6 separate regions of the Homo sapiens genome follow, and regions 1, 2, 4, 5 and 6 are each linked to region 3. Evidence: promoter capture Hi-C in 16 types of primary human blood cells and fetal thymus (Javierre and others, 2016). All regions are on one chromosome and are shown on one strand. Each heading gives the region's core, a stretch centred on a gene start or on the middle of the fragment in contact. The rest is flanking DNA. Distances are from core to core; before and after follow the strand shown. Region 1 overlaps DPYSL4 (dihydropyrimidinase like 4). Region 2 holds the start of INPP5A (inositol polyphosphate-5-phosphatase A). Region 3 holds the start of PWWP2B (PWWP domain containing 2B). Region 4 overlaps INPP5A (inositol polyphosphate-5-phosphatase A). Region 5 overlaps INPP5A (inositol polyphosphate-5-phosphatase A). Region 6 overlaps JAKMIP3 (Janus kinase and microtubule interacting protein 3).

The links. The method cuts DNA at HindIII sites, captures the fragments that hold promoters and counts their contacts. A CHiCAGO score of 5 or more calls a contact.
Region 1: a contact is called between a fragment that was not itself captured here and the fragment with the promoter of PWWP2B in region 3, in 1 of 17 cell types (naive CD4 T cells). The highest score is 5.8, in naive CD4 T cells.
Region 2: a contact is called between the fragment with the promoter of INPP5A here and the fragment with the promoter of PWWP2B in region 3, in 13 of 17 cell types (naive CD4 T cells, megakaryocytes, total B cells and 10 more). The highest score is 13.8, in naive CD4 T cells.
Region 4: a contact is called between a fragment that was not itself captured here and the fragment with the promoter of PWWP2B in region 3, in 1 of 17 cell types (total B cells). The highest score is 8.2, in total B cells.
Region 5: a contact is called between a fragment that was not itself captured here and the fragment with the promoter of PWWP2B in region 3, in 1 of 17 cell types (naive CD4 T cells). The highest score is 5.2, in naive CD4 T cells.
Region 6: a contact is called between a fragment that was not itself captured here and the fragment with the promoter of PWWP2B in region 3, in 1 of 17 cell types (total CD4 T cells). The highest score is 5.5, in total CD4 T cells.

What each region holds. Positions count from the first base shown.
Region 1 is chr10:132,195,755-132,198,824 of GRCh38, forward strand. It overlaps DPYSL4 (dihydropyrimidinase like 4), which reads left to right. Exons shown (of 14, transcript NM_006426.3): 5 at 1,107-1,168; 6 at 1,267-1,347; 7 at 2,661-2,729. Among named protein-coding and RNA genes, the nearest start is that of DPYSL4, 10 kb to the left of the region's middle. The HindIII fragment of the contact is 8,271 bases long and covers 1-3,070 here.
Region 2 is chr10:132,535,532-132,539,113 of GRCh38, forward strand. It overlaps INPP5A (inositol polyphosphate-5-phosphatase A), which reads left to right and starts at 2,256. Exons shown (of 16, transcript NM_005539.5): 1 at 2,256-2,640. The coding sequence starts at 2,566. It overlaps LOC107984282 (a long non-coding RNA gene), which reads right to left and starts at 1,392. Exons shown (of 4, transcript NR_158224.1): 1 at 1,195-1,392. RefSeq lists a silencer at 1,277-2,376 and an enhancer at 3,157-3,206. The HindIII fragment of the contact is 3,408 bases long and covers 1,218-3,582 here.
Region 3 is chr10:132,395,360-132,398,449 of GRCh38, forward strand. PWWP2B (PWWP domain containing 2B) reads left to right here and starts at 1,841. Exons shown (of 3, transcript NM_138499.4): 1 at 1,841-1,992. The coding sequence starts at 1,868. LOC124902526 (a long non-coding RNA gene) reads right to left here and starts at 1,197. Exons shown (of 2, transcript XR_007062342.1): 1 at 1-1,197. RefSeq lists enhancers at 1-282, 283-805, 2,376-2,898, 2,899-3,090 and silencers at 614-993, 1,014-1,443, 1,854-1,963, 1,974-2,113. The HindIII fragment of the contact is 15,859 bases long and covers 1-3,090 here.
Region 4 is chr10:132,596,634-132,599,810 of GRCh38, forward strand. The region is part of intron 1 of INPP5A (inositol polyphosphate-5-phosphatase A); the gene reads left to right. Among named protein-coding and RNA genes, the nearest start is that of INPP5A, 60 kb to the left of the region's middle. The HindIII fragment of the contact is 3,852 bases long and covers 1-3,177 here.
Region 5 is chr10:132,616,218-132,619,618 of GRCh38, forward strand. The region is part of intron 2 of INPP5A (inositol polyphosphate-5-phosphatase A); the gene reads left to right. Among named protein-coding and RNA genes, the nearest start is that of INPP5A, 80 kb to the left of the region's middle. The HindIII fragment of the contact is 278 bases long and covers 1,148-1,425 here.
Region 6 is chr10:132,178,385-132,181,441 of GRCh38, forward strand. All of the region lies in intron 23 of JAKMIP3 (Janus kinase and microtubule interacting protein 3), which reads left to right. It overlaps JAKMIP3-AS1 (JAKMIP3 antisense RNA 1), which reads right to left. Exons shown (of 4, transcript NR_184044.1): 4 at 1-656. Among named protein-coding and RNA genes, the nearest start is that of JAKMIP3-AS1, 6.8 kb to the right of the region's middle. The HindIII fragment of the contact is 8,704 bases long and covers 1-3,057 here.

The DNA.
Region 1 (3,070 bases), core at 356-2,855, 200 kb before region 3:
GCCCGTCAATCCTCAGTCCCTGGGCCTCACTCCAGGCAGCTGCTCTGCCACCCATGCTGTTCTGTGAGTGGACTCGGGAGGCCTGTGGCCTCGTGTCTCAGAGCGGAGGTGGAAGCAGGGCCTGCACCTCCCCTCACCCTGTGTTGGCAGTGCTGGGGCCTCTGCTCCCCAAGAGCCATGCAGGAGTCCTCAGTCCTGTGCCCACGGGGTAGTGTTGCAGGGACAGCACTGCGCAACCCAAACATGACCTTCCTCAGACACTCGGGGGCAGGCCTCAAACTCCAGGTCACATACAGGTTGCTACCTGGAGGGATGGCTTGTGGGGCACAGTGTGACTCAGTTTCCCCAGTGTGCCTTAGCTTGTCACACTAGCACTTTCCACCCAGCGAGGAGGAGATGCCATGGGTTGGGTGGGCTTGAGTGATGGGAGGTTGGGATCCTGCCTCCAGGCCCAGGCCGGTCCCCACACAAGTTCCGAGTCCTGGGGGAGGTGGATGGGCTGTGGCTGCCCAGGAAACAGGAGAGCTCAGCCCTCTTCCTGTTTGGGCCCCAACGTCAGAGGCAGCCCCTCATCCTTCTGCTCGTCCTAAGGGCCCAGCCCTGAGATCTGGGTGGTCCCACAAGCCTGCACTGTGAGCCAGGCATGGCAAGTGGGGCTCCAAGGCCCTGCAGGCAGGTGCTGGATGTGCTGGACGGCCAGAATGCAGGTCCCCAGCACAGCGCGGCCCTGGCCGCACTTCCAGGAGGGAGCCAGTGGAACCCAGGCCGAGAGCCCAGGCACAGCGGCTCTTCCAGTAACGGGGGGTCTGCTGGATGGGTGTGAGGGGTTCTCACCTGCATTTGCCGCTGGGTGGACAATCAGTTCCTAACCCGGAGCACAGGAGCAGGCAAGGAGGGCCTGGATGTAGCTGCCTCCGCCTCACTTCCCAGCTTGCTGGTGTGTGCATGGAAGCGGGGGACTGCTCCCAGGGCTGGCAAGCCAGTGAGGGAAGCACTGCGGGGGAGGGGCCCAAGACCCCCAACCCTCCAGTGGGCAGGAGCAGCAGAGGCTCCGTAGGTTGTCTGACTGGTGATGGCTGAGCCTCTGACCCCTGCCTCTTCTCCAGGTGTGAACTCCTTCCTGGTCTTCATGGCATACAAGGACCGGTGCCAGTGCAGCGACAGCCAGGTAAGGGCAGGCGTGGGGAACGGAGTGGGCAGGTATATCCCAGGCCGCTGCTGGTGCAGGCGCAGCCCCACCCAGGACGCCACCACTTCTCTTCCCAGATGTACGAGATCTTCAGCATCATCCGGGACCTGGGGGCCTTGGCCCAGGTGCACGCTGAGAACGGGGACATCGTGGAGGAGGTGCCGTGGGGCAGGGCTGCCGTGGGGCAGGCACAGGGGCTGCCGTGGGGCAGGGGCTGCCTGTGGGGTGGGGCAGGGGTCTGAGGGTGACTTTCATGATACGCAGACATCAGCACAGAATCCCACAAAACCTTGAGGGAGGGTCATAGCTTACCCCGAGTCAAAGGTCAACCAGTGAGTTAGAGAGACTGGGGGGTGATGGGGAGCTTTGAGGCCATAAAACAGCTTCTCCTTGATCAACACTTCTTATCCAAAATACCTCAAAAGCAAAGTGTCAGCCCCAGGGATCGAGGCCCCTCCTGTGGAGCGGGGTACCCGCTGGGGGTTGGGTTACCACCTTCCTTCCAGCCAAGGGCACCCATGTTGACAGGGCCACATCCTTCAGACACATCCCACCGGGCTGGGGAGGGCCTGAGCCCGCGTGCAGTGGCGCCGACCCCCCAGGCCCTTGGGGCTGAGGCAACCTTGGCCCTGCACCTTGTTTTCCCCTCTAGCAGAGGCACCCACAGGTACAGATGGAGTTCAGAGAGTGGGCCACCCCATACCCGTGGGACCTCAGTGGGGGTCACCACACAGGACACACCTCCCTGACACTGCAAACCCACAGTGAGACTTCGTGGGACGGGACGGGCTCTGCCCACCTCCTGAGCTCTACAGGAAGGTGGTGGCACTCGGGCAGGGGCATGTGGGGGGTCCCCAGTGTCCTCGTCCACCCGTCCAGCTGTGAGGGCATCGGGGCATCACAAACACTTCTGTGGCCCAAGGCCAGGCCCCGGCTGCACCGTCAGGAGGTTGTCCTGGGTCTAGGGATGCTCCACATACAGCGGGAGGGAGCCTCAGTATTGGGGCTGCTGCTTCTGGCCGGTACCATGTCTTCCCTGACACGAGCGGATGCCGTAGTGCAAATCTGCACGGAAAGGCAGTGCTGGAGGAAGGAGTGGTCGTCCATTCCTGACCTGCAGAGCCCTCCCTGCCTGTGCACACCCCCACACATGCCCCCGCTGGGGGAGGCAGCGTGATGGGCATAGTGGTGGGAGGGTGGGGTCTTGGTGCCATCAGTCAGGAGCCCTGCAGCCTTGGGGGAGCCACTTTCCCCTATCCGAGCTGTCCCCTCCTTGGTAACTCAGGGAGCAGGAATCACACCTCTCCAAGCCCCTCTGCCCTCTATTCTGAGTGTTCTGTGGCTGGGAAATTCTGGGAGGCCTGGGGGTCCAGGACCACTTGGGGAATGGGGCCTCCCAGCCTTGGGCTTAGCATCCAAGGCCCAGGCTCCCTTCAGGGCTTGGAGCGAGGCATCCTGTTGGTTTCTTTAGGAGCAGAAGCGGTTGCTGGAGCTCGGCATCACTGGCCCCGAGGGCCACGTGCTCAGCCACCCCGAGGAGGTAAGATCCCAGGGCACCACAGCACACCCGAGCCAACTCCGCCCAGACCACTGCTGCCTGGGGCTGTGCTGACCCTGGCCCTGGGCTCCTGGCCCTGCCACTGTGCTCGCCCCGACCTCATCTGGGAGGCGTGAATCCTCCCCGTGCCAGGCACTTGTCCTCCATCCCCCCACAACCCTACAGCCTGTACCCGAGGCCCAGAAGGTGGCGTGGGCAGGCCCAGGCACTGAGCCCGAGGCTGGGCCGCTCCTACTAGGCTGCCCTGAGCCTGGGATCCCATGGGTGACACCTGGGCATCCCCATTGCCCACACTGGTCTGGAGCCCCAGGGCCCTCGTGTGG
Region 2 (3,582 bases), core at 1,006-3,505, 140 kb after region 3:
GGAAGGGCAGAGGCCAACGTCCAGGCATGGCAGGAGCTGGCTGGCGAGGAGAGGAGGAGGGGGGAGCAGGGAGGGCACAAGGGGTGGGGGACGCTGCCTCAGCCGGGTGTGAGGGCACAGCCTGCGGGGAGAAGTGAGGAGGCAATGTCCCTTCTCAGAAAGCACGTTCCAGGGATCAGTGACACCCCCACATTTGGTTTCTACTAAGGGTACCCTTAGCATGTGCTGATTTTGTTAAAAAGAAAAATAAGCGACTACATCAGTCAGCTTCAGCTGCTGTAGCGAAATATCACAGGCTGGGAGGCTGAAACAAGACTTTTACTTCTCACAGTTCTGGGGGCTGGAAATCCAAGATCAAGTTCCAGCAGCGTTGGATTTCTGGTGCAGGGTTTGTGGCTGGCTGGGGTGAAGCTTCCCACTGTGCACTCACACTGCCACTTCTTTTGCACATGTAAGGGTGGGGACAGCACTGAGCCCTTTCTATTAAACACTAGCCCTATTGCACGACTTAACATTAAACACCAGCCCTACTGCACGACTTAACATTAATTACCCCCGCTAGCCCACCTCCGAATACAGTCACATTGGAGGTTAGGGCTTCAACCCATGAATTTGCGGGGTGGGGTGGGGTGGGGCGGGCGGAATTCAGTCTGTAGCAGGCACCTACTGACTAAAGTAGACATTGGTTTATACATCAAATGGATTTTGCTGGAGTCCTGCTCAGCGGTGGCCGTAAGGAGGAACCCTGGGGGTGTTAACACAAGCCAGTGATGCGGCCTCAGCACAGGCCTGGGGCCCGAGCCTGCAGCACCATTCCTGCCGCCCCGCCCTGGCAGCAGGTGTCTTCCTAGAACAGAACAAGCCCCTTTTGATGTCATTGGGCATTGCCTTGGCGGTTTACTCAGAAGCTGGAGGCTAGCCTCGCTAGAGCCCATTGCCAGGCCCTGACCGCCCCTAAATCTGTGTCCACAAAATCCTCCGGAGTGCCTGCTCCGCATGGTGGCCACTGGCCACACAGGGCTGCTGAGCACTGGAAGCGGCCTTGTGAGCTGCTGCCAAGAGGCAGGTGCCCGTGCAAAGCCTTCCTGTGAAGGAATCTCACTGAGGTTGTTAAATTCTGGTTACATGTTGAATGATGTATCTATCTATTGGGTTAAGTAAAACGTATTGTTAACTTTGGCTATTACTTGTTACCTTTAAAAAATGTAGCTACTGGAAGCTTTAAGATGACAAATGTGGTTCTCCTCCTCCATCTACAGGCATGTCCCGGTTCACGGCGGCTGTGTCCCCGCGGCCTCAGACCCAGGGTCCAGCCCATGCTCTGGCCCCTCCGGCGGCCAGGATCAGCATCGCTGCCCCGGGGCCCGCGCCGAGCCGGCTGCTCCTCCGTGCTCTGCGCTCCTGGGCCCGCACCAGCCCCCTCCCCTGGAGCCCCCTTCGTCCCTGCGAGGGTTCCCTGCACGCCCCGCGCTGAGACCCAGCCTGGCCCGGGCCGGAGCCCTCCGCGACGTCAGGATGCGCCTGGCCTCACGCCGCCTCCCCTCCGTCTTCTCTGGGCCGCAGCCGCTCCTCGTGAGTGAGGTCGCGGCCAGGGAGCCGGGTGGACGCGCCGGGAAGCTGCACGGTCCACGCTCCGTCTGCGCGGAGAGCCGGGCGCGCGTGGCCCGGCCCCTGCAGGCGCGACTGCCGCCGCCCCGGTGGGCTCCCCTCCCCCGCACGCCCGGCACGCGGCTGGACGACTGCGGCCGCGCGGGGGCTGGAACATCCCCTCAGAGCCGCAAGAGAGCGCACCCGCCGCCGGCGCCCGGAACCCAGGGCCCCTTTAAGAGGCGCCGCCGGAGCAGGGCCGTGACGTCATAGAAGTGCGAAGGGCGGAGTCTGTGCGCAGCCGCGGCGCGGGGGGCGGGGCGGGGGCGCGGCGTTCTTGCGGGCCTGACTGACAGGAGCGCCCTCCGGGAGCGACCAGTACTAGGCCGCCGGTCGCAAGAGCGCCCCGCGTAGGCCCCGCCCCGAAAGGAGGCCCCGCCCCGGGGCAGGCCCCGCCTCCACAAGGACACCAAGTCCCGCACAAGCCACGCCCCCCGCAGGCCCCGCCCCACTCTGTTCAGATCTAGGCCCAACTCAGGCTCCGCACCTCAAGGCTCCGCCCCCAGCAAGGCTCCGCCCCAGGCCCGGCTCCACCCCGCACAGGCCCCACCCCGAGTCAGGCTCCGCCCCGCCCAGGCCCCGCCCCGGGCTCGGCTCCGCGGGGCGGGACTTGCCCTCAGCCTGAGTCGGCGGCGGCTGCGGGAACTTTCCCAGCGGATCTAATGGCTGCGCGCGGGCCGCTGTGAGGCGCGGCGGCGAGCGACGGGCGCGGGGCCGCGGAGCAGCGAGCGAGCGAGCGAGCGCGAGGCCGGAGCCCCGGCCAGGCCCGGCCGACCCGCCGAGCCCGCGATGCGCCCCGGGGCCGCCCCCCGGCGCAGCTGACGCCCCGCGGCCCCGCGAAGACCCCGGCCGGCCGGTCCCGGAGGAAGCGGCCGCCGCCGCCGCCGCCCAGCCCAGCGCCCGCGCCGCCCGGGCACCATGGCGGGGAAGGCGGCCGCCCCGGGCACCGCGGTGCTGCTGGTCACGGCCAACGTGGGCTCGCTCTTCGACGACGTAAGTCCCCCGTGCCGGCGGCAGGCCCCAAGCCCGGAACCCCCGACCCTGACCCCGGGGTCCCGAACTGCAAGCCTTGGACCCTGGACCGTGAACCTCCAGACCCAGAGGCCCCAGACTCTGATCCCTGTACCCGGGACCCCAGACTCCTGTCCTGATTCCCAAGTCTGGGAGCCCAGACCCCTGTCTTGATCCCCAAGCCCGAGACCTGAAGACCTGGGCCCTGAATCCCCGAACCCCATCCTCCAGACTCCAGCAGCTGACCGTTGACCCTGGGACCCTGCCTCTGAACTCCTGTCTGCAAATCCTGACCTCGAAACTCCAATATTAAAACCCTGTCAGAACCCCTGTTAACAGTTCCTGGAACCCAAACCCCAGAAACCGGGTCTGTGCGCACCAAACCCAGCCCCAGCCCTGATTTCCGAATCCTCAGAACCCTGGCCCTGGAATGCCCATCCCCAACCCTGGCCCTGAACCCCAGGTCCATGGTCACTGGAACCACAAATCCTGACTGCAGAACTCTGGTTACAGAACCTGCTCTCAAACGTCTGTCTCTGGTCCCTGAGCCCTGGACCCCAAACCCTGAAACATAACCACAAACCCTAACCCAGGAACTTCTGACACAGGGCTGTGGCCCCAACCTCCTGTCCCTGTTCCCCAATCACTGAATTCTAGCCCTAGAATCCCAGCCTTCATACTGTGGCCCTTTGCCTCTAAAGCCAATCTAGCCTGACTCTGAACCCTGAATTTCAACCTCAGGCCCCAGCTTATGGCCCTGAACACTTGTCCTTGACCCCTGAACCTGGAACCCTGGTTCCAGAATCAGGCCCCAAACCCAATTCTGGACCCTGCCCCTAACTCTGGTTCCTAGATCCCATCCTTGGCCCCTTCCTCCAACAAGCTCCTGCCCCTGAATCCTGAATCCTGAATCCTGGTCTTAAA
Region 3 (3,090 bases), core at 591-3,090:
CCCTGGACACTCTTTCTGGATCCCTCCACCCACATACAGCCCCCTGTGCATTAGCCCCACCCCATGCTGGCCCCACCAGCCTGAATGCTGATTCACCCTGGCAGTCCCCAATGCTCAGAAAGGGCAGTGCCCAGCAGGCCTCTCCAGCAGGCAGGAAGAAGAGCCAAGCAAGTGGGCAGCCTCAGGATGGCCGCTCAGCCCAACCTGGAGCAGGGTGGCGAGGGGGTCCCTGCTGCCTGGCATTTTTCCTCCAAAGTCAGCCCCACCCCTGGAGGGGGCAGCTGCAGAGGCCTGTGGGCAGGACAGCAGGCAGGCTCCACTGCAAGCCTGGCAACCAGTGGGCAGGGGCTGGCTGACCCTGGAGAACGGGGCGCCTTGAGGTGCCTGAGGCCCCAGGAAGGGCTTAGTGTTGGCGGGAGCCCCAGGCCACACAGAGGAGGACAGACACTCACTGGGCTTCCAGGCCTCCTCTGGGACTGTCCCCGGCCAGAACTCTGGCTCATTCGGCCTCGGTCCCTACCCCTGTTCTAGCCGGACGGTCAGGTGTCCCAGGCCCCGCGGGCTCCCTCACTCCGCCCTGGCTCCTCTCTGAGGCTCCCACTGCCGCGCGGCCGCCGGAGGGCGAGGTCGACAGGCGCCAGCGACCCGACGGTCCCCAGTGGCACCAGGGGCGGTGGTCCTCAATTCCCAGGCTGGGAGGAGCCCTGCCCGGCGGCGCTGGGTCGCCAGGACAACTACGCGGTCCCCCGCCCCGCCTCCAGGCCTCGTCAGGCGCTGCAAGTCCGGCTCAGAAGCCCGGCCCGGGGCCAAGGTCACCGCAGCAGGCCGGGCCCCTGCGTTCTGAGCCGGGTGCGGACGTGCTGGTGCTCGGGGAAGTCGGGGGCTTTGACGCCTGAAGGCGCGGGAGCCGGGCGCCTGGGGGAAGGGGGTCCGGCGCCGTCACCTCCCACTCCTCGCCCGCGGGTCGGGGAGCCCCTGCCGCGGGGGAAGGAGGCTGTTTCCTTTGTAAACTGGCGGAGGCGCGCCTGGCCCCTGGGCCCGGCAACCCGAAGAGACACGCCCGAGACCTCCGGAGGGAGTTAACCCCCCGGGCCCCGGTGCCGGCCACCCCCAGGCGCGCAGGGTGGCCCTGAGCCGGGCGCGCGCCCGCTTGTCGCCCCGAGAGGCGCCGAGCCCAGTGGGGCGACCCAGTGTCCCGCCCCCCACGCGGCGAGGGCGACACTAGGCCGCTGCCCCCGGGCGCCCCGCGTCCCCTCCGCCTGCCCCGGCTTCCTGCGCGCGCCGCCCGGGACTTCCTCGCCGCAGTGCCCGGGGCCACCAGAGCCCAGCGCGGGGCGCTGCCGGGACACGCGGGCGGCCGACCCCAGGCGGGAGGATCCGGGCCACCGGGGAGGGAGGGAGGGCGCAGGGCTGGGCCCGGAGGGGGAGGGGGGCCCGGGACCGGCCCCAGGCAGGGGAGCGGGGGGATGGGGTCCCGGGGCTCCGGCCGCGGCGGGTGTCCCCCCCGCCGCCCCCGGGCTCGTGGCTCTCGGGTCCTCCCGAGCCAGGGGACACTCCCGGCCAGCGTGGGCCGCGAGCCCGGGCGCAGCCCCCTCTCCAGCCCGGGGGTCCGCACCGCGCGTCCGGCCGACCTCTGCGGGCGGGCGCGGCTTCTCCCGGGACGCGGCGGCGGCGGGCGGGGTCCCCGGGAGCGGAGCCCGCGGCCGCGCGCCCCCGGCCCGGCTCGGCTCGGCTGTGGCGGCCGCCCCAGCGGAGCTTTGTGACGTCAGGCGGCCGCGGGGCGGCGTCACGCGCGGGGCTGACCCGGCGGCGGCGGCGGCGGCGGCGGCGGCGGCGGGGCGGGGGCGGCCTGGGACGCGGCGGGAGCATGGAGCCGCGCGCCGGCTGCCGGCTGCCGGTGCGGGTGGAGCAGGTCGTCAACGGCGCGCTGGTGGTCACGGTGAGCTGCGGCGAGCGGAGCTTCGCGGGGATCCTGCTGGACTGCACGAAAAAGTGAGCGGGGGCGCGGGCCGGGACACCCCCGGGGTCCCCACGCGACACCCGCCTCCGCCGCCCGGAGACCCGGGACCCGCCTCCGGGTTGGGGGTGGCGTGGCCCCGGCGCCCGCTTTCGGTTTCTGCCGAGCCTGAGTTTCGGGGCGCGCGAGCGCGGCCGCCACTCGGGGGGGCAAAAGTGGTTCTCAAAGTCGTCGCGACTTTTCGGGGCGGGCGCCGGGCCGGGGCGGGCCGGGGCGGGGGGCGCGGGGCCGGGGTCCCGGAACTCCACACATCTGCCATAATTAATGCACTTTTCTTTGTTCAGAGCCACTGTTGAATTCGACTGTTGGCAGAATTGTCGTTAAAGCAGGGGAGGGTCAGATGCGCCGTGGCCTTGCCCTGGCAGTTCCTCACAGGTGGGGGTGCCCTGTCGAAGGCCACGGGCCCCTGGCTGCTGGGAGTGACTCCGCGGCTGAGGTTTGGATTCGGGGAGAGCAGTTGCGCCCAGCTGTGCGATTTAAGAACAGTTTCAGGCCAGGGAGCCCTGAGTCATGGGGGCGTGAAGAGGTACAAGCTGTGGGAGCCGTGGGCACATCCCCCGGGAGCCCTGGCTTCCTGGGTGGGGGGCGCAGGGCAGGGCGGGGCGGTTCCTCCTGAGAGGCACCTGTGCACGGGCTGCAGGGACCCATGCGGTGCAGATGAGCCTCCTGGACACCGCGTCACATGGCAGGGAGCTGTCGCTGCCAGATCAATGATTAGGCATGAATCAGGCTGTGGCCTCGCTGCGCTCCTGCAGGGCTTTCTTTTGAAACTGGGAGCAGGGAAAGGCTCCTCTTGTAAAGGCCCAACTTTTTCCATCCGTGGAGCCCAGATTTTTGCCTGGTGACATGAATTAGCAGAGAGGACCGTGTTCCTTCCACAATTATTTCGCAGACGTTATCTCTTCATTAGATGTGCCAGAAGCCATTTATCCACAAGTCACGTGATTTAACATATGGCTCCCGTGTGGTTCCTGCCCGCTCCGTGTGGGCTACCGCTGGGAGTGCACGGGCAGGATGGAGGGACACTCGGGGGGTGAGAATCGCCACCTGGGAGCTGCCATCCCCTCCACCAT
Region 4 (3,177 bases), core at 378-2,877, 200 kb after region 3:
TGGCCAGGCTGTTCTTGAGAATTCCTGACCTCGTGATCCACCCTCCTTGGCCTCCCAAAGTGCTGGGATTACAGGCGTGAGCCACCACGCCCGGCCCATGTGTGTGTGCATGTTTGTGTACGTGTGTATGCATGCATGTGTGTTTGTGTGCAGGCTCCTGTACATGTGCGCGTTTGTGTGTGTCCATGTGTTTGCTTGTGTGCGTGTGTGCATGCGTGTGTGTGCATGTGTGTGCATGTGTGTGCATGCACGTGTGTTTGGAGGCTCCTGTGCATGTGTGCATGTGTGCGCGCATGTGCACGCATGTGTGCGTGTGTGCACACATGTGTGCGTGTGTGCATGCGTGTGTGCATGCACGTGTGTTTGTGTGCACGCTCCTGTACGTGTGTGCATGTGTGCATGTGTATGCATGCATGTGTGTGTGCAGGCTCCTGTACGTGTGTGCGTGTGTGTATGTGTGCATGTGTTTGCATGTGTGTGCATGGGTATGTGCACGTGTGCATGTGTGCATGCATGTGTGTGAGTGTGTGTGCGCATGTGTGCGTATGCACATGCACTTGTGTTTTCATGGCCGAGGGTTTATTTTCTAGTAATTTGAAGCCCTAAGTGACAGAACCTTTTCTGTTCTTCTCAGTGTTTGTGCTACTGTCCTCTCCCTCTTCTCTCAGTCTCAGAAGATGTGTCAGGGTGTCTGGATGTGGTCTGTCAGCTCATCCACAAGGACTCGGGCCATCTCCCCTGTTCCTGCAGGTGGTGGGAAGTTTCTATATCCACATTTTCTTCATTGAGGATATTGTGGTTTGTTGTGAAAGTGCTTACATTCAGTGGGATAAAATTTGAGTCACATATTAGGATATTATATTGTTATTTCAGTTGTGAATTTTAAGAAATTATATAATTTCTTACACATCTTCAGGAATGCATTAGGCAAGTTAAACAATAGTGTTACATGTTGGGGATATGTTTATATGCAGAGCGGTTGTAAAAACTGTATTAACATCTGTGTGCATTGCACGTGTCTGCTTGTTCCTCTGTTTCCAGTGTTTTGTCCTTTAGTGTGTGCTGCAGCGCTGTGCTACGTGTAGTGACCCTGGGCCTGTGGTGCGTCCTGCGGGGCTGTGCTACGTGTAGTGACCCTGGGCCTGTGGTGCGTGTTCCGGGGCTGTGCTACGCGTAGTGACCCTGGGCCTGTGGTGCGTGTTCCGGGGCTGTGCTATGCGCAGTGACTCTGGGTCTGTGGTGCGTGTTCCGGGGCTGTGCTATGCGTAGTGACTCTGGGCCTGTGGTGCGTCCTGCGGGGCTGTGCTACGCGTAGTGACCCTGGGCCTGTGGTGCGTGTTCCCGGGCTGTGCTACACATAGTGACTCTGGGCCTTTTGGGCAGGTCTCAGATTTACTGTCTGTTTTAATTTCAATTGCAGTTTTTGTTTGATTTCGCTTGGGCGTCTGGGACCTACCCTTCCTACTGCTAGGGTCAGAACTTTCTCTTTTTTTCATTTTATATGAGGTGAGTAAAGTGCAGCTCTCAGACGTGTGGAGACTCAGTGTGTGGCTCGGCTGCTTGAGTGGCGCTGTGGCGATGGAGATTACCTCCACCTTTTTAATGCGGTAAAATGGGTATAAAATTTTCCATCTTAACCATGTTTAAGGGTGCAATTCAGTGGCATGAAATGCATTCATAATGTTGCATAACCATCACTGTCATCCATCTCCAGATCTCTTTTAATCTTGTAAAACTGCAGCTCTGTCCTCGTTAAACACTGAGTCCCTGTCTGCCCCCAGTTCCTTTGTCACCAACATTTTACTTTCTGTCTCCATGAATCTGATGACTCCAGATATCTCACATGAGTGCGATCATACATTCTTTGTCTTTTTGTGTTTGGCTTATTTTCCTTAGCATAATGTTCTCAAGGTTGTTGCATAGTCAGAATACCCTTCCTTTTTAAGGCTGAGTTATGTGGATAGACCACAATTGTATCCATTTGTCCGTGGATGGACACTTGGGTTTCTTCCAGCTTCTGGCTGATTGTGGGTGTACCGATATCTGTTTAAGTTCCTGCTTTCAGTTCTTTTGGGAATTGTATTAGTTCATTTTCATGCTGCTGATAAAGACGTACCTGAGACTGGGAAGAAAAAGAGGCTTAATTGGACTTATAGTTCCGCATGGCTGGAGAGGCCTCAGAATCATGGCAGGAGGTGAAAGACACTTCTTAAATGGCTGCAGCAAGAGAAAATGAGAGAGAAGTAAAAGCGGAAACCTCTGATAAGCCCATCAGATCTCTTGAGACTTATTCAGTATCATGGGAATAGCACAGCAAAGACCAACCCCCATGATTCAATTACCTCCCCCTGGGTTCTTCCCATAACAGGTGGGAATTCTGGGAGATACAATTCAAGTGAGATTTGGGTGGGGACACAGCCAAACCATATCATTCCATCCCTGGCCCCTCCAAACCTCATGTCCTCACATTTCAAAACCAGTTATGCCTTCCCAACAGTCTCCCAAAGTCTTAACTCATTGCAGCATTAACCCAAAAGTCCACAGTCCAGTCTTATCTGAGACAAGGCAAGTCCCTTTCATGTATGAGCCTGTAAAATCAAAAGCAAGCTAGTTACTTCCTGGATACAATGGAGGTACAGGTATTGGGTAAATACAGCCGTTCCAAATGGGAGAAATTGGCCAAAACAAAGGGGTTACAGGGCCGATGCAAGTCCGAAATCCAGCGGGGCAGTCAAATTTTAAAGCTCCAAAATGATCTCCTTTGACTCCTGGTCTCACATCTAGGTCACACTGTTGCAAGAGGTGTGCTCCCACGATCTTGGGCAGCTCCGCCCCTGCGGTTCTGCATGGTACAGCCTCCCTCTCGGCTGCTTTCATGGGCTGGCATTGAGTGTCTGCGGCTTTTCCAGGCACACAGTGCAAGCTGTTGGTGAATCTGCCATTCTGAGGACTGGAGGATGGTGGCCCTCTTCTCACAGCTACACTAGGCATTGCCCCAATAGAGACTCTGTGTGGGGGCTCTGACCCCACATTACCCTTCTGCACTGCCCTAGCAGAGATTCTCCATGAGGGCCCCACCCCTGCAGCAAACTTTTGCCTGGACATCGAGGCATTTTCATACATCTTCTGAAATCTGGGTGGAGGTTCCCAAACCTCAGTTCTTGTCTTCTGTGCACC
Region 5 (3,401 bases), core at 37-2,536, 220 kb after region 3:
GTGGCGTGGGAGGCAGCTGCAGTGGGAGGTGCCTGTGCTTTGTTGGTTGTGAACAAGCATCCAAGGGAGGACCACAGTGGCAGATGTGCAGTGTGGGGCATGTGGCGTGCAGGGACGCCGTGGGCGTGGTGTGGGGCACGTGGCGTGCGGGGACGCCGTGGGCGTGGTGTGAGGTATGTGGCGTGCGGGGACGCCGTGGGCGTGGTGTGGGATATGTGGTATTGGGAACATGGTGGTGACGCAGGATGTGGTGGTGGTGTAGAATGTGGTGCTGATGGATGTGGTGTGTGTGGGATGCTGTGGTCACATGGGACATGGTGTATGGGACGTGGTGGTGACATAGTGTGTGTTGGTGATAGGGGATGGGGTGGTGACATGGGATGTGGTTTTGGGGTTGCAGTGGTGACATGGGACATGGTAGTGACATGGGACATGGTGACAGGGTAGGGTGTGGTGGTGATGGAGGTGGTGTGGTAATGTGGCGTGGAGGATGCAGTGTGGGGGACATGGTGACATGGCGATGTGTCATGTGGTGATGGGGGACGTGGCGTGGGGGATATGGGGTCCTGGATCTCCTGTAGCTCTGGCCAGTGGCGAGTGGCACCATGCAGCAGGGAGGAAGGCCAGCTTCACGCTGCAGGAGCTCCTGGGCAGTCTGTTCTGGGAGTGAGGATGTTTGGGGGTTGTGGAGCCATCGTGCTGGCCAGTTGCTTTGCTGCGCTGGTGGGGAGAGGCCGCCTGAGGTCCTTCGAAGCAGCCTGGGTCTGTCTGCTCCCTGGGGTCAGATGCAGGCCGCTTCTGCAGCTTCGGCATCATGTCCCAGCCCAGCCCCGCAGCCTTCACCTGTAGGAAGATTCTGCAGGCTCTCTCTCCCTCCATCATCTGGTGACTCCTCAAACACCGCGCCCTGGTTGGTGGCTGTATTGATTCTTGGTCTCCCAGTGACGAGCTGAGGTGGGGAGCCACGAAGCCACAGGCTGAGGCAGAGCCAGGACAGACCCTGCTTGGCCCTGGGCTCTGGCTCTTTGCAGGCAGCTCAGCAGACAGTCCCCGCCCTTCAGAGCTCCTGTGCAGTGTGGCTTGGGGCAAAGCCACCCTGTGGCTCTCTCAGGGCCCTTCTGCCTCCTGGTCTGATCTAAGGACAAGAAGCTTTCCCTCCGGTGACTGCAGGGACGAGAGGAAGGGATGTCCACCGGCCGTGGGCATGCTCACACTCACACACGCTCACTGCCTGGGTGAGAGGCGGTGGAGGACCCCTTTCCCAGAGGGAAGGTCTCCTGTGAGCCACACCTGAAGGGTGTGGAGGAGCGGCTGTTACCTGCTCGTGTGGCCAGTGCAGATCTTGAATCCTCAGACTGCAGGTGAGGTAGCCAGGACATCCATTGTGACCTTCTTCCTGTTGACAAAGACAGTACATGGAGTGGAAGCTTCTGGCTATCTGTGCATTGCTTCACCGAGCACCTGACTGCGTCTGGCACGTGGCGTGTGTGGAGCAACTGCCTGCCACACAGAAGTCTGAGGATACTGATCAAAGCAGAAAAGGATAAACATTCTTTCCTTCCCCAGTTTTGCCTCCAGCATGATGCACACCCCATCATATGTGTTTGCCTGCGTGGCTGTGGGCAGGTGTGCAGTCCACAAGTGGGTCATCCACAAGTGGGCAGCAGACACATGTGCGTACAGCTTACTCTCTCTGCCTTTTTTGTAAGCTGGGAAATCTTTCTATGTGAATTAATATATGCTGTCTATCTTAATAGCTTCAGAATATTTTATGATATAGTTAGGCCTTAATTTTTTAAAGTTGTTTTTCTGTTGGACCTTGAGGTAGTTTAAAGTTTGCTTGTGGGAATGAGGATAAATTTTAAAACAGGATATAATGTTGTCTGTCATGCAAATATAAAATGAATAGGTACTTATTCACTTTAAATACCTATTTTAAAAATAGAGTTTTAAATTGAGATAATAAATGTTGTTTATTTATCAGGGAGAGACCCAGTAAGATGTAGAACTGGTTCAGGGAAGAATCCAGAATGTAGGCAAATAGCTTCTCCCATCAGCAGTACTGACATGAGTGTGCTTCACGGATGCAAGGCTGGCACTGTCCACAGGGTCATGATCCATCACATCTGCTGGACATTGTGCATTTCTGTGGTCAAGAATCATTTCCATCATCATCAGCTTTTAAACTCACAGAGTTGCAACATAGCTCAGAGACAACTAAAGGTAGAGATAACCCAAATAGGTGAGCTAAATGGAGGCACTCTCATTATTGCTCATTTTAAAGTCTTTCACAGTTTTTCCTGATGGTAATTTTAAGAATGATGTGATAGGCAGTGTCTGTTTCCAGCTAACATGGAAGAAGAGTGTATTAGGCCATTCTTGCTTTGCTGTAAAGAAATACCCGAGACTGGGTAATTTATGAGGGAAAGAGGTTTAATTCGCTCACGGTTCGCAGGATGTGCAGGAAGCTTAGTGCTGGCACCTGCTCAGCCCTTGGAGGCCTCATGGAATTTTCAGTCAGGCAGAAGGCAAAGGGGGAGTAGCCATGCCACACAGTGAAAGCCAGAGCAAGAGAGAGCGAGTGGGGATGAAGTGCACACACCTTCAAATGACCAGACCTCATGTGAACTCAAGAGTAAGAACTCACTTATCACCAAGGGGATGGCCCAGTCCATTCAGGAGGCATCTGCCCCCATGATCCAAACACCTCCCACCAGGTTCCTCCTCTAACACTGGGGACACATTTCAACATGAGATTTGGCCGGGGACAAATATACAAACTGTATCATTCTGCCCCAGCCCCTCCCAGATCTCATGTTCTTCTCACATTTCAAAATACAATCATCCCTTCTCAATAGTCCCCCCAAAGTCTTGACTCACCTCAGAAGTCCCATGTCTGATGACTTCTCTGAGACAAGGCATGTCCTTTCCACCTATGAACCTGCAAAATCAAAAACAAGTTATTTTCTCCCAAGATACAATGGGGATATAGGTATTGGGTAAACATTTCTGCTTCAAAAGGGAGAAATAAGCCAAAAGAAATGGGCTATAGCCCCCAGGCGAGTTTGAAACCCAGTAGGGCGGCTATTAAATCTTAAAGCTCCAAAATCATCTCCTCAGAGTCTATGTCCCACACTCAGGGCACACAGGCTCAAGGGGTGGGCTTCTATGGCCTTGACCAGCTCTGCCCCTGTGGCTTTGCAGGGTTCAGCCCCCAGGACTGCTCTCATGGGTTGGAGTTGAATGCCTGTGGCTTTTCCAGGCACAGGGTACAAGCTGCCAGTGGATATACCATTTTGGGATCTGGAGGATGGTGGCCCCCTGCTCACAGATCCACTATGCAGTGCACTGCTGGGGACTCTCTGTGGGAGCTTTAACCCCACATTTTCCCTTGACACTGC
Region 6 (3,057 bases), core at 539-3,038, 220 kb before region 3:
GTGTCTGGGTAAGGTCTGTTTCATATTTTCCCCAAATCAGAGCTTCAAGAAAAAAATACCTTGACTGTGAGCAGAGTTAGTGGCTGCCATTTGTTTCTGTTTGGTTTGAAAATGTTTGGCTAAAGTTTCTCAGACAAAAGAGCATATGGGGAAAGGTCCTGTGCTTGGCCCTCACTCCATGTCCTATCAGCTGGGAATCTGTGTATTTGTGGGGCGGTGTTGGGGAAGAGCAAGGATCCAGACTGCAGGGTCTCACCCCCTCCCAAGCGGCTCACCCTGTGTGAGAACCCTGGGGTTGCTTGTCTCATGCACATTTTTGGAAACTGAGGCTGTAGGTCCCGAGCCTTCCAGTGGCATTCATCATCTGTTGATTCTGAAGCAGGCAGAGTTCCGGACCCCAGGAAGGTTCTTGTCTTCCTTGCCAACTGAGTTATGTTTCCAAACAGTTGAGATCCCAGTGGAAATTTCCAGCACACACAGACGGCAGGGGCCTGTTCCTCCGGCTCTGTTTTGACATCAATCAGAATGCTGTTTCCTGATCCATATGTACGACTACGTCTGCACGTGGTACCCATGGTGGTATTGATGAGGGTTCTGCCCTGCAGCTTTTAGCGAGGTTCTGGTGCCTTCGTGCCCGTGGGGCTGGGGGCCCCGACCTGTGGAAACACCCTGTGTCAGCCCTGGGTGGTGCCCCAGGCATGCTGCCATCTCCTGTCCCTGCTGCCGCCCTTGGCACTGTCCAATGAGCCAAGTTCATGATTGTGGTTGTCAACTTGTTCCTACACTTCATCAGCTATCCTCGTTGCAGCCCAAGATAAAATTACCCAGGCTTTCCCCTCCAGCGTGAAGGGCAGGGGCCCTCAGTGCTCATCCTCCCCCAGCATCATGCACGGTCACGGGGCTGTATTTGTTGACGGGACTTTTGGGCTCCCCGGGCTCTGAGCTGGTTGGGGCTCCACCTGCACTATGCCTGAGCTCCCCACATCCTACCTCTCTCCTGTCACTCGAAGCTCAGCCACCTGAGCAGCACTTTCCTGCCCCCTCCCTGAGAACTGGGAGCTCTTGGGATGAGGATTATCTGGGTTTCTCCCGCGGAACCCTTACTGTGGCACTGATACACTCACATAAACATTTGCCACGTGAATGGCCAAGTACGTAAAAGAATGCGCTCCCTGAAGGCAATTCGCAGCCCCATGTTCCCCCCACCCCCCACACTTCCAGGCAACAGTGAAAGCAGATGTTCTGGGGGTCCCCGAGACCACCTGCATCTCTGGGGACTCGCTAGGATTCACAGGACTCAGCACACAGTCACACCACAGCAGGGCCACACCACGGCAGGGTCGCACCACAGCAGGGTCACGCCACGGCAGGGTCACACCACAACAGCCACACCATGGCACAGCCACACCATTATCGCAGCCCTATAATCGGGAGGCATGGCTGGATCTGCAAGGGAAGAGTTCACAGGCACAGCCTGGAGAGGCCTGTGAGCAGACTTCCTGTGCTCTCTCCCCTCCCATGCTCTTCCCCCTGTGAGGTGCACACGGGGCACACACTCCCTCCAGCAGCAAAACACAGCCCCATATATGCAGTGTTTCTGCTCGGGAAATTCCAGCTAAGACCCAAAATTCATGGTTTTGATTTGGGGGCTACTCAGTTGTGCGCCCCCCACCCACTAACATGCCAGGCCCTCAAAAGGAAGGCTGGTGTTTGCCATGAATCACATTGTTTGCACAGTCTAGGCAGGAACCTCCTCACTAAAGGAATGCTTCGAAGCCAAGTTCCCAGACGCCAGCCAATGGCCACCGTTGCAAGCAGGCACTTCTGCAGCTAGCAGCCTCAGGCCTGTCCACAGAGACACTCTTGAGTGAGGACCCTGGGGTGCCAGAGCTTGCTTGGGGGCATTGAGGAGCCCCATGGAGCCACAGAGACCAAGGCCAGACCCATGGATGGCTGCCTCCCACCTGTCCTGTGCCTGACATGGCTCCAGTTTGGATGAGGTCCTCAGCTGACTGTGAGGGACAGTGCCCAGAAAGGGGAGGGTGGGTGGGAGGGAGAAGATCACGTTCCCTAGAAGAGACGGAACAGATGGGGTAGGGCGGGAGGGATTTGGGAAGACTGCAAACCTGGAAGCAGAACTGTGTGTGTGTGTGTGTGTGTGCGTGCGTGCATGCGTGTGTGTGCGTGTGTGTGTGCGTGCGCGTGTGTGTGTGCGTGCGCGTGTGTGTGTGCGTGTGTGTGCGTGTGTGCGTGCGTGTGTGCGTGTGCGTGTGCGTGTGTGCGTGTGTGTGCGCGCGCGTGTGTGTGCGTGCGTGTGTGTGTGCGCGTGTGTGTGCGTGTGTGTGCGTGTGTGCGTGCGTGCGCGCGCGTGTGTGCGTGTGTGTGCGTGTGTGTGTGTGCGCGTATGCATGTGCTGTGAGTGGTGTGTTGTGTATGCATGTGTGTATATATCGTGTGCATGTGTGTGCTGTGTGTGAGTGGTGTCTTTGGGCATGTGCATGTATGTGTATGTGTTGTGCATTGCATGTGCCTGTATGTGTATTTTGCATTGTGTGTACACATGTACAGTGCATTTGTGCGTATTGTGTGGGCATGTGTGTGTAGTGTATTGTGTGTACATGCATGTGCAGTGTGTATGTGCTGTTTGCACATGTGCAGGTATGTGTATTGTGCATTGTGTGTACGTGCACATGTAGTGTGTGTGTGTGAGTGGTATGTTGCGGCCATGGATGGGGCAGAAAGTCTCCTGTTCTGGAAATAGGGCAGTGAGTGGAGTGTGCTGACAATGGAGAGCAGCAGCTGGCTCTGGAGAGGGATCAAGTGACCACAGGAAACCAAATGCTCTGGTCTTGTTCCTTTAATTTGGGGAGTGAGTTTTTAAAATTCAGCATCATATTTTCAACAAGACCTCTGTTCTCTATTTGCATGTGCCTAGTTCATACTCCAGGCAGTTGATCACATAATTCAGAGAGGCATTGACAGGGTGGGAGTGTTTCTGGGTAGGTGTCCAGATCCCCGGCCCTTCTCAGCCTGGAAGTGTCACCGAGGGAAATCCCT